Linked DNA regions of Homo sapiens: region 2 is linked to region 1. Evidence: promoter capture Hi-C in 16 types of primary human blood cells and fetal thymus (Javierre and others, 2016). All regions are on one chromosome and are shown on one strand. The core of a region is centred on a gene start or on the middle of the fragment in contact, and the rest is flanking DNA. Distances in the headings are between cores, read along the strand shown.

Evidence for each region. Contacts are between HindIII fragments. The CHiCAGO score rates a contact against its expected background, and 5 or more counts as called.
Region 2: a fragment that was not itself captured here is called in contact with the fragment with the promoter of GNG12-AS1 in region 1 in 4 of 17 cell types (M2 macrophages, M0 macrophages, M1 macrophages and 1 more); the score reaches 11.6 in M2 macrophages.

Annotation. Positions count from the first base shown.
Region 1 is chr1:67,830,087-67,834,186 of GRCh38, forward strand. GNG12-AS1 (GNG12, DIRAS3 and WLS antisense RNA 1) reads left to right here and starts at 2,202. Exons shown (of 10, transcript NR_040077.1): 1 at 2,202-2,350. GNG12 (G protein subunit gamma 12) reads right to left here and starts at 3,381. Exons shown (of 4, transcript NM_018841.6): 1 at 3,258-3,381. The HindIII fragment of the contact is 10,966 bases long and covers 1,086-4,100 here.
Region 2 is chr1:69,724,761-69,728,860 of GRCh38, forward strand. The region is part of intron 2 of LRRC7 (leucine rich repeat containing 7); the gene reads left to right. Among named protein-coding and RNA genes, the nearest start is that of LRRC7, 160 kb to the left of the region's middle. The HindIII fragment of the contact is 3,682 bases long and covers 267-3,948 here.

The DNA of each region.
Region 1 (4,100 bases), core at 952-3,451:
CCTCCGCCTCCTGGGTTCAAGTGATTCTCCTGCCTCAGCATCCCGAGTAGCTGGGACTTCAGGCATGCGCCATCACGCCTGGTTTATTTTGTATTTTTAGTAGAGATGGGGTTTCTCCATGTGGGTCAGGCTGGTCTTGAACTCCCGACCTCAGGTGATCCGCCCACCTTGGCCTCCCAAAGTGCTGGGATTATAGGTGTGAGCCACAGCGCCTGGCAAGATGAAGGCATTTAAAAAATTTTTTAGATTTTAGGAAATGAGTCAACAATGTGATGAGTAGATTTCCTGAATTAACTGAACACCCAATCTCATGAAAGTTTACAAATAAAACAACGACTCACAATCAGCCTAACACTTCTTATGGCTTATCTGTTGGCCTTGGACATCAGCACATGCAAAAGTAAATAACCGGATACCCTTGGGTCACATGTTTTCATACTTTGATTAAGAATTACACTTGGTTAAAGATGAATACTTCTGTTCCTGGCTTAATTTCTTACCTAGGGCTAATAAACACAACTATTTGAAATATAAATTCTCTTTAAATGTAAAGGATAATGCAATGTTTCTGACTGTCAAAATTACTATGCAACTGTAACTTTAGCACTAAAAGCATATTAAAACTATTAATCCTTTAATCATAATTATTCATATTGCTGTGGTAGAAACATCACACATACACACACACAAACACACACACACCAGTTACTTTCTGTAGAATTTGAAATTGCTCTATCTAGCATTTCCGGAAGGTTCAAGCTGCCACCCTGCAATTTATCCAGTAGCCTGCTGCTTGAACAAGCTAGATAAATATCTAATAATTTTGACCATGTACTGCGTGTTAAGTCCAGTTTAAGTGTTTTCCAAAGACAAAGTTTTCATATACTTTCTGTAAAGCCCTACAGATAGAGACCATTATTATCCCCATCTTATAAATCAGACTGAAAAAGGTTAAATAGCTAATATTTTCATCTAAGTCTGTCTGACTCCAAAGCCAACACCCCAAATCACTGTTAAACAAGCTTCTCTTCCAAGTTAGGGCTCAGAAAAATTTACTTGCTTTCACAACTTGCCTTCCTAGGTTAAGCTTAAGCTGACATAAAACTCCAAAACAAAGCAAAACACAATAAATCACATAATTCTAATTTTAAAAAAAACTAATTTGATATTGGCTAACCACTTCCTCAAGTTTTCTGACCATGAAGCCCTTTGCTCTCACACTTTAATAAACCACCGATATTCTCTAACAAGTGACAACACAAATCCACAAATCTAATTGTTAGAGAGCTTTCAAGTAAGACTGGAGCTTTCTGGACAGGAAATTTTTATAATTCTATTTTTTTCAGGCTCTTGTGAAACACAGATTCACATTTTCATATATTTCTACACAAATCTAAGTGCTGTGTGCCCTGTTGGGGGTTCGATATCTAGTAAATTACATGAGTTAAATACAGCAAAAATAGGACTGCATTATTTATAAGGTCTAACGACGCAGTAGACTTTTCAGCATTTTTTGGACTTAAACCAGGGCTTTACGGCGCTGGTTAACTATTAGAGAAGGCAAAGGGACTGAACATTTTATCTGAAAGTCCTTTTATCACTTAAGACTCTGTAAAATTTTTGATTACTTTAAAAATTGTGTGTGTGAATAACGTTAGTTTACTAGAAAAGGGGCTTGCTAGTATATATAATTTGGTTAAAAAAACAAAAACAAAACAAAACAGCTCCTTACTTGAATGTGATTGTTTTGGCAATAGTAAAATTCAATCCCGTCGTTCTAGCGCTGCCTGCCTTCCTGGTTCTCCTAGGTGAGGGCCGCCATCCTGCGATAATTTACTTCGAGAGCTGCGAAGCGCTGGCAAGGGTGCAGTCTGGTGACTAGCACTTTTAAAAACAAAGCCAAACTCCGCTTTTAAAATAGAGAAGGCACAGACGCAGACCCTGCCTCTGACGACATCCAAAAGATTCATTATACACAGCCTATTCAGGCGAAGCTACAACCGCCCCAGGAAATATAAACTGTGTCGGCAAAGACAGCAGGGGGGAGAGGAAGTAACTGATGGGAAGGAAGCTAATCATGTGAAGTTTGTCCAACTCCACACGGTCTAATAAATTCCCGTTTGTTTCCGCTGGGAGCAGCCATTAAACGCGCCCTGACACGTGGGCGCAGGAACCTCCCTTCTACCTCTGGTGTTCAGAGATTTCCTTCTCGACCCACTTGTTTGTATACAACCACGCCCGGCAGGATGACCACCAGATGACCGGCCGCAGCAATGCCTCCACTCAGTCCCAGTTGGGCAAAGTTTCACTCCACTGCGGCGACGTGAACAAGAATCACGGCTTCCTTATCGTGAGTTATGAATGATTTAAGCCAAGTTTACAGGACACACAAAGCGAGGGACGAGTGAGTGACGGGAGGTGCTAAGTGACAGCGTTTTAAAGTTAGCTTTAATTGATATGCCCTAATTAAAATGAAAAACAGAATTCACCCTGCCCCACGGGATAACTGTCGGGGCAATAATTAAAAAAAAAAAAATCACCCAAGACTAAGCCTCAACCTCCCCCTTACCACTTGCAAATACAGTCTGCAGAAAAGCAGCCTCGGGTCCCCACTCGGGGGTCCCTCGCGGGGTGCGTCATATGGGCTCTCCCCTCTGCGACCCGCTATTTCCCTGCTAGACCCCCAGCGCCCAGCGGATTCCAAGGCTGCGCTCCCGCCGGCTGGTCCCGGGAGGTAGAAAGTAGGCAGAGGGGCGTGGCGTCCCTGTCGCCCCCACATGCCAGCCCTCCTCCAACGCCTGACACCACCACAAGCCACGGCTGGGAACACTGGGGGCCTCCCAACCCGGCGCGGGGCGCACGGCCGCAGGCTGGCGAGGAGGCAAGCGAGCTCAAGGGGAGACCTTTCCTTCCACCCCCAGCCCTAGCCCCAGCCACAGCCGTGGGGGCGGCTTCCCGCAACCTCGGGCGGCCGCCCGTCGAGGGCGCGCGCGCCGTTTCTGCCTCTGGGTCTCGGTGTCCCTTGGCCCCTTCCTCCCCCTCCCCCCGGTCTCCGGCGCCCAGCGCCCAGACCAGTCCCCGCCCTCCAGCAGGACACTCTTCCCTCCTTCCTTCCTTCCTCCGCTCCCTCCCTCCATCTCGCTTCCCAGCACCCGGGACTCGGAGGCGGCCCCCGAACTCGCTGGCCGACGCCCCGCGCCGCGCCCCGACCCCGCGGGGACCCGACTCACCACCCGCGCCCGCCGCTTGGTACTCACCCGCCTGCCGGTGCGCTGCCCCGCCGTCGCCGCCGGGACTCGGTCTCTAAGGGCTCCTGGAGACGGCTCCGACCTCTCCTCCTCCTCCTCCTCTTGCTCCTCCGGGCGCCGGCTCCGCCTCGCTGGGGTGGGCGGGGCGGCGGCGGCCCCGGGCTCCTTCCTCCGCGCCGGGCCCTGCCTCCCGCCCGGACGCCCTGGCTGTGCTGTCCCGGGCCGGGGAGCCCGCGTTGTGGCCCCGCAGGAGGAGGGGCGAGGCCTGGCCTGTGGAAGCTCGGTGGACGTCTGGTCGTCTTTGGCCATCCCCCTTCCTCTAATTCTCATGGAGGACCTGAAGTTCTAGGACTTGAGGGCCCCCACTCTACGACCCGCCCCCGCGCGGGGCCGCCCTGACTCCTCGCAAGTTTCCTTCGCGTGCGAACGCCTCGCTTGCCCCTGTGCCAGCGGTCCCCAGGGCTGTGAGGATGAGCGCTGCCAAACCCCTACACGAAAGTTTGGTTCTGTTCCAGAAACTATGGAGGAAAACACGCATAGTAACATTTAAAGGGCCCTGGGGCCACGGAGAGAAGTTTCCCAGAAAGTGGAGGTATAACTGCGGATTATAGAATTTGTAGTACATCCACCCACCATGAGCTTCCCGTCCATCTGCCCCGACCCCCTGAAATTTGTTTCCGAATGTCCAGTACCTGGCAGAGTTCTGCCTAATGAATTAATGGGATTTGGTTGGTCTTTTCTGGAAGGGTTCAAGGTCGGGTAAATGGAGGAGCCATTTCCGCTTCCACAGATTTTGTACTATTCCTTTGGCCATTCGACAGACATTACCAAGCACCCGCTGTGTACCAACTG
Region 2 (4,100 bases), core at 858-3,357, 1.9 Mb after region 1:
CCAGAAAATTATACAATTTTGTGGTTATTGAATTTTTTTAAATAAAATCATTTCACTGTACTATAGGAACTTGCTATTTTAGAATAAATCCTTTTCAACTGTTACTATAAATAATTAGACATTTATTTGGTTCATATATTTAGTTTTTTTAAAGTGTGATAAGCTTATACTATTACAAATACAGTTACCCTTGAACAACATAAGGGTTTGGGGCACCAATCCTCCCAAGCAATCACAAAACCAAATATAACTTTTGACTCCACAAAAGCTTAACTACTAATACCCGCTGTTTACTGGACAATTAATATATATACATGTTTTATATATATATGTATATTACAGAGTATATTAGACACTGTATTCTTATGATATGGCCAGAAAAAAGACAATGTTATTTAAAAAATCGTAAAGAAGAGAAAAATATATATACTGTTCATTAAGTCAAAGTGGATCATCATAAAGGTCTTCATCCTTGTCTTCACATTGAGTAGGGGGAGGAGGAGGAAGAGAAGAGGTTGCTCTTTCCATCTTGGAGGTGGCAAAGGTGGAAGAAAATCCACGTTTAAGTGGGCCCGTACAATTCAAACCTGTGTTGTTCAAGGGTCAACTGTACTAACTCCAAACAACTTCCAAGTTCATATCCTACTGAAAGTATATCAGTCATTCTGTTAGGAAGCCAAAGAGAAATTTTAAATAATATAATATTGTCCATGAAGAATAACCTAAAATTGAAAACCAATTGTTACAGGTTAGAGGTGGCATTTATATGGGCAGAAATTGAAAATCTAAAGAATGAAATTGATGACAAGATTCTTCAGATTCTGTATAGGTACGAAATGCCAACATACACTCAAGGTGCCTAAACGTTTTTAATATGATTAGAGGAAGTTATTGGAACTCTGGGGTGAGCCAGAAATAGTCAACACAGGAAAGAGAGATTGGAGGCAAGAAGGGAACTTGTCAAACCGTGTTTGTCTCTCAAGGCCATGATGGCCAGAGAGAGACTACAACCAGCTTCACACTCCAGGCTCCTGTCCAGACCTGTGCTGCTCTGGGGAGCCCCACATGACCCAGCAGCTTGGTTTCTGTGCCCTGAGTGTTCCGATACCAGGAAATCAAGTTTTGATGCTGCCATGTCTGTTTGACTATATTTCTAAATAATCTGTGCTGAACAAAGGGCCTGGACCCTACCTGTAGCCTAGACAGCACTCTCTAGCTGGAATTGACTAACTGAGTTTAGTTGTTTAAACTAAAGCTATAACCATTAACCTAGAGAAAGATGGAACAGCAGAAGAGAGTAAAATTCACATTTATCAAGTCATTTCAATGTAGTCAAAATACATTCATACACACATTTTCTTACTTAGCCTTCATATTATCTGTATAAGTAATATGAGAAACTGAGATGCAGAGAAGTTACTTAAGTGGCTTTTTGACAGTTACCCTGGTTACTAAAGGGAAAACCATTGCAGTCTATTTCTATATGACTTGAAGGGCCATTCTATTTCTACTGTATTGCCAGGAGGAAAGAGTTTCCTTGAAAGAAATTGGATGAAGAAGCTATCATAAAATTTTATCACCATAATAAACCTCTATAGAGTTATAGGCTTATTAGATAGAAATGTAAAGATTCCTTAAAACAGCAACAATGGAACAATGACAATAGTTGTATTGATGTCATTAAATATGGCACCACTGGTCATAGTGTAAAGGATGGATTGAGGGAGATTATGGAAGAAGGTAGAGAGAATGGCTACCAGGAACAGTCATTGGATATCCAGGTAGCAATACTATGTGGGTAAGTGTGTTTCTGAAATGAAGAACAGAGATCTGGGCTAAAGATGTGGATTCAGGAGATTTTACCATGAAGATCGTAACTAAAGCCAAGGGTATAAATGAGGTTGACCAAGAAAACCAAGAAGCAAGGTAAGAAGAGAATAGAGAGCAAAACTTGCCTTTAAATTTCTTTAAAATTTGAAAATGTAAGAGGGCCAGAGTCAATTATGTCCACAGAAGAAAAAAAAAAGAATACCAAGGAAAAAATAACAGAATTAAATAAAAAACTGCAAAGAAAAGAAAGTCTGAGTTCATAGAATCTGGTGGTTAAGATATTTGGGGACCTGCAGGAGAACTTTATAACCATGTAGGTTAAGCTACTGACTGTATCTTAGGTCAGATTCCTTGGAAACAGACTCCAAGGTAAAAATTTGTGTGCAGGAGAATTATTGGGTGGTTCTGGGTAGAGAGAGAATTTGAACTACAGTGAGGTTGCAACACATGCCTCAATGGAACCTAAGGGTAGCACTGGAGCTGGGAAAGCCCTTCAGTATTGTGCCAAAATGAGGCAAGGCAGCTGGGCTTTCAAACCAGCCTCAGTCATTGGAGGGATGTATCCTGGATGAGGTAATTCCCTTCAGTCAAGGGCAGGGCCCAGAGAGGGATGCACTGGTGAGCCATTAGTGGCCAACCTTCTGGCAGCTGGGAGAATGAATGATTCCATCCTGCAAGGGATCTGGGATGGTCAGCACCTCACAGCTTCCCAGGAGAGAATGAAGAAAATGAATGTGAAGAATGCTTTGCTGTAAGGGGTTTTTATAATTATAGCCACTAATTCTCTCTTCCAAATTTTCCCCGCCATCATCTTTTTGCCAATCTGACTCCTTTACTGACAGATTTTCTTCTTAGATAGCTACTTCTTTTACTTATATGTCCTGCAATTAAGTAGCTGTCTTTTCTTTCACTGTTTCACTGAGTTGTCACTAGTACCATAGGGGACAATACAAGTCTAAGTGGATTCCTATAGCCACTCCCATTAATACTTATGTGTAAAATTACCATACTTTACAGAATTGCTTTTTCTAGATCAATTTTCATTAGAAAGGAGGCTTTCTGTGTGAGCTCTAAGTTGAGGAATTTAGAAACTATAAACCAAGACTTGATGTATTATTTGAAGGCTCAGAGTGTATTGAAGAGTCTGGTTTTACATATTTTCTGTGGGACTTTACATTTCCTTAGAAGAAGACACTAAATAAATAGGCTACAATTATAACTACGAAATCTTACCATAATCTTATGTTCATAAATATAGAAAAAGATTAAAAGCTGTTAATCATTTTGGCAATTATTAATTTATGGAAGCTCTGAGTGTGAGGATGGTGTAAAAATAGTTCCCAGAAGGGATTTGAATCAACATGAACTTATATCCTCGTGTCAACCATTTTTATCACCCTGTGTCTTTCCATTCCCTGCAGGTGCTTAATTCAATATCCAGCTGTCTCTGGCAGTCACCTGAGATGTGTATTTACTGGCAGTTTTATTACTTTTTTCAGAATATATAGTACCATAGATTTATTTCTCTTTTTAATGTATTGATAGAATAGTTTAATATTTAAGATGTATTAGTGACAGGTTTTCTGGAAAGTATAAATTTCTAGTCTATTAAATTCGATTTAACCAAAAACAACCCCCACTCACACTCTCCCTATTAAAAAAATGGGAATCATGTAACATCTTTACTTAGATCTAACTAGAAACTGTTTGAAATGGGCAGATTTGTTCTTGCTTTGAAAATACCATATAAACAAAAAAAAAGTCAGTCCCATCTGTCAAATTGCCTGGAGAATGCATTTAACAAGAAATGAAGCTACATTAAAGGCCATAAAATATGCAGCAAGGGAAGGAAGGATAAAGCTATCCTGCAGTTCATTGGCTTCACCTACTGTGCAGTGTACTCCTTGTGAACAAGACAGATTAGATAGTTATTGCTACATCAAAATATCTGCCATTGTGGAGAGTAAGAGAACTAGAAAAAGAAAAAGGGACTCCAAATCCCAGCTCTTTCCATGATCATGAGCCAAAGAAATGTGAAAATTAATTACATTTTCTTTCATTTTATGAAATTGGATCAACTTTTCCTAATAGAGAATAGAACTTATTTGCAATAAAGGAAGCTTCAACTTCATTCATACTGTTACCCATTTGGCAATTGAAAGAAGTGAACTTAAAGTTTTGCAGCTGAGCCTAAAGGAAAAGGAATAAATTGCTGAAGAGCATGCACATAAGCTGGATAATGGCAATAGTATTGTATTAATCCATTCTCA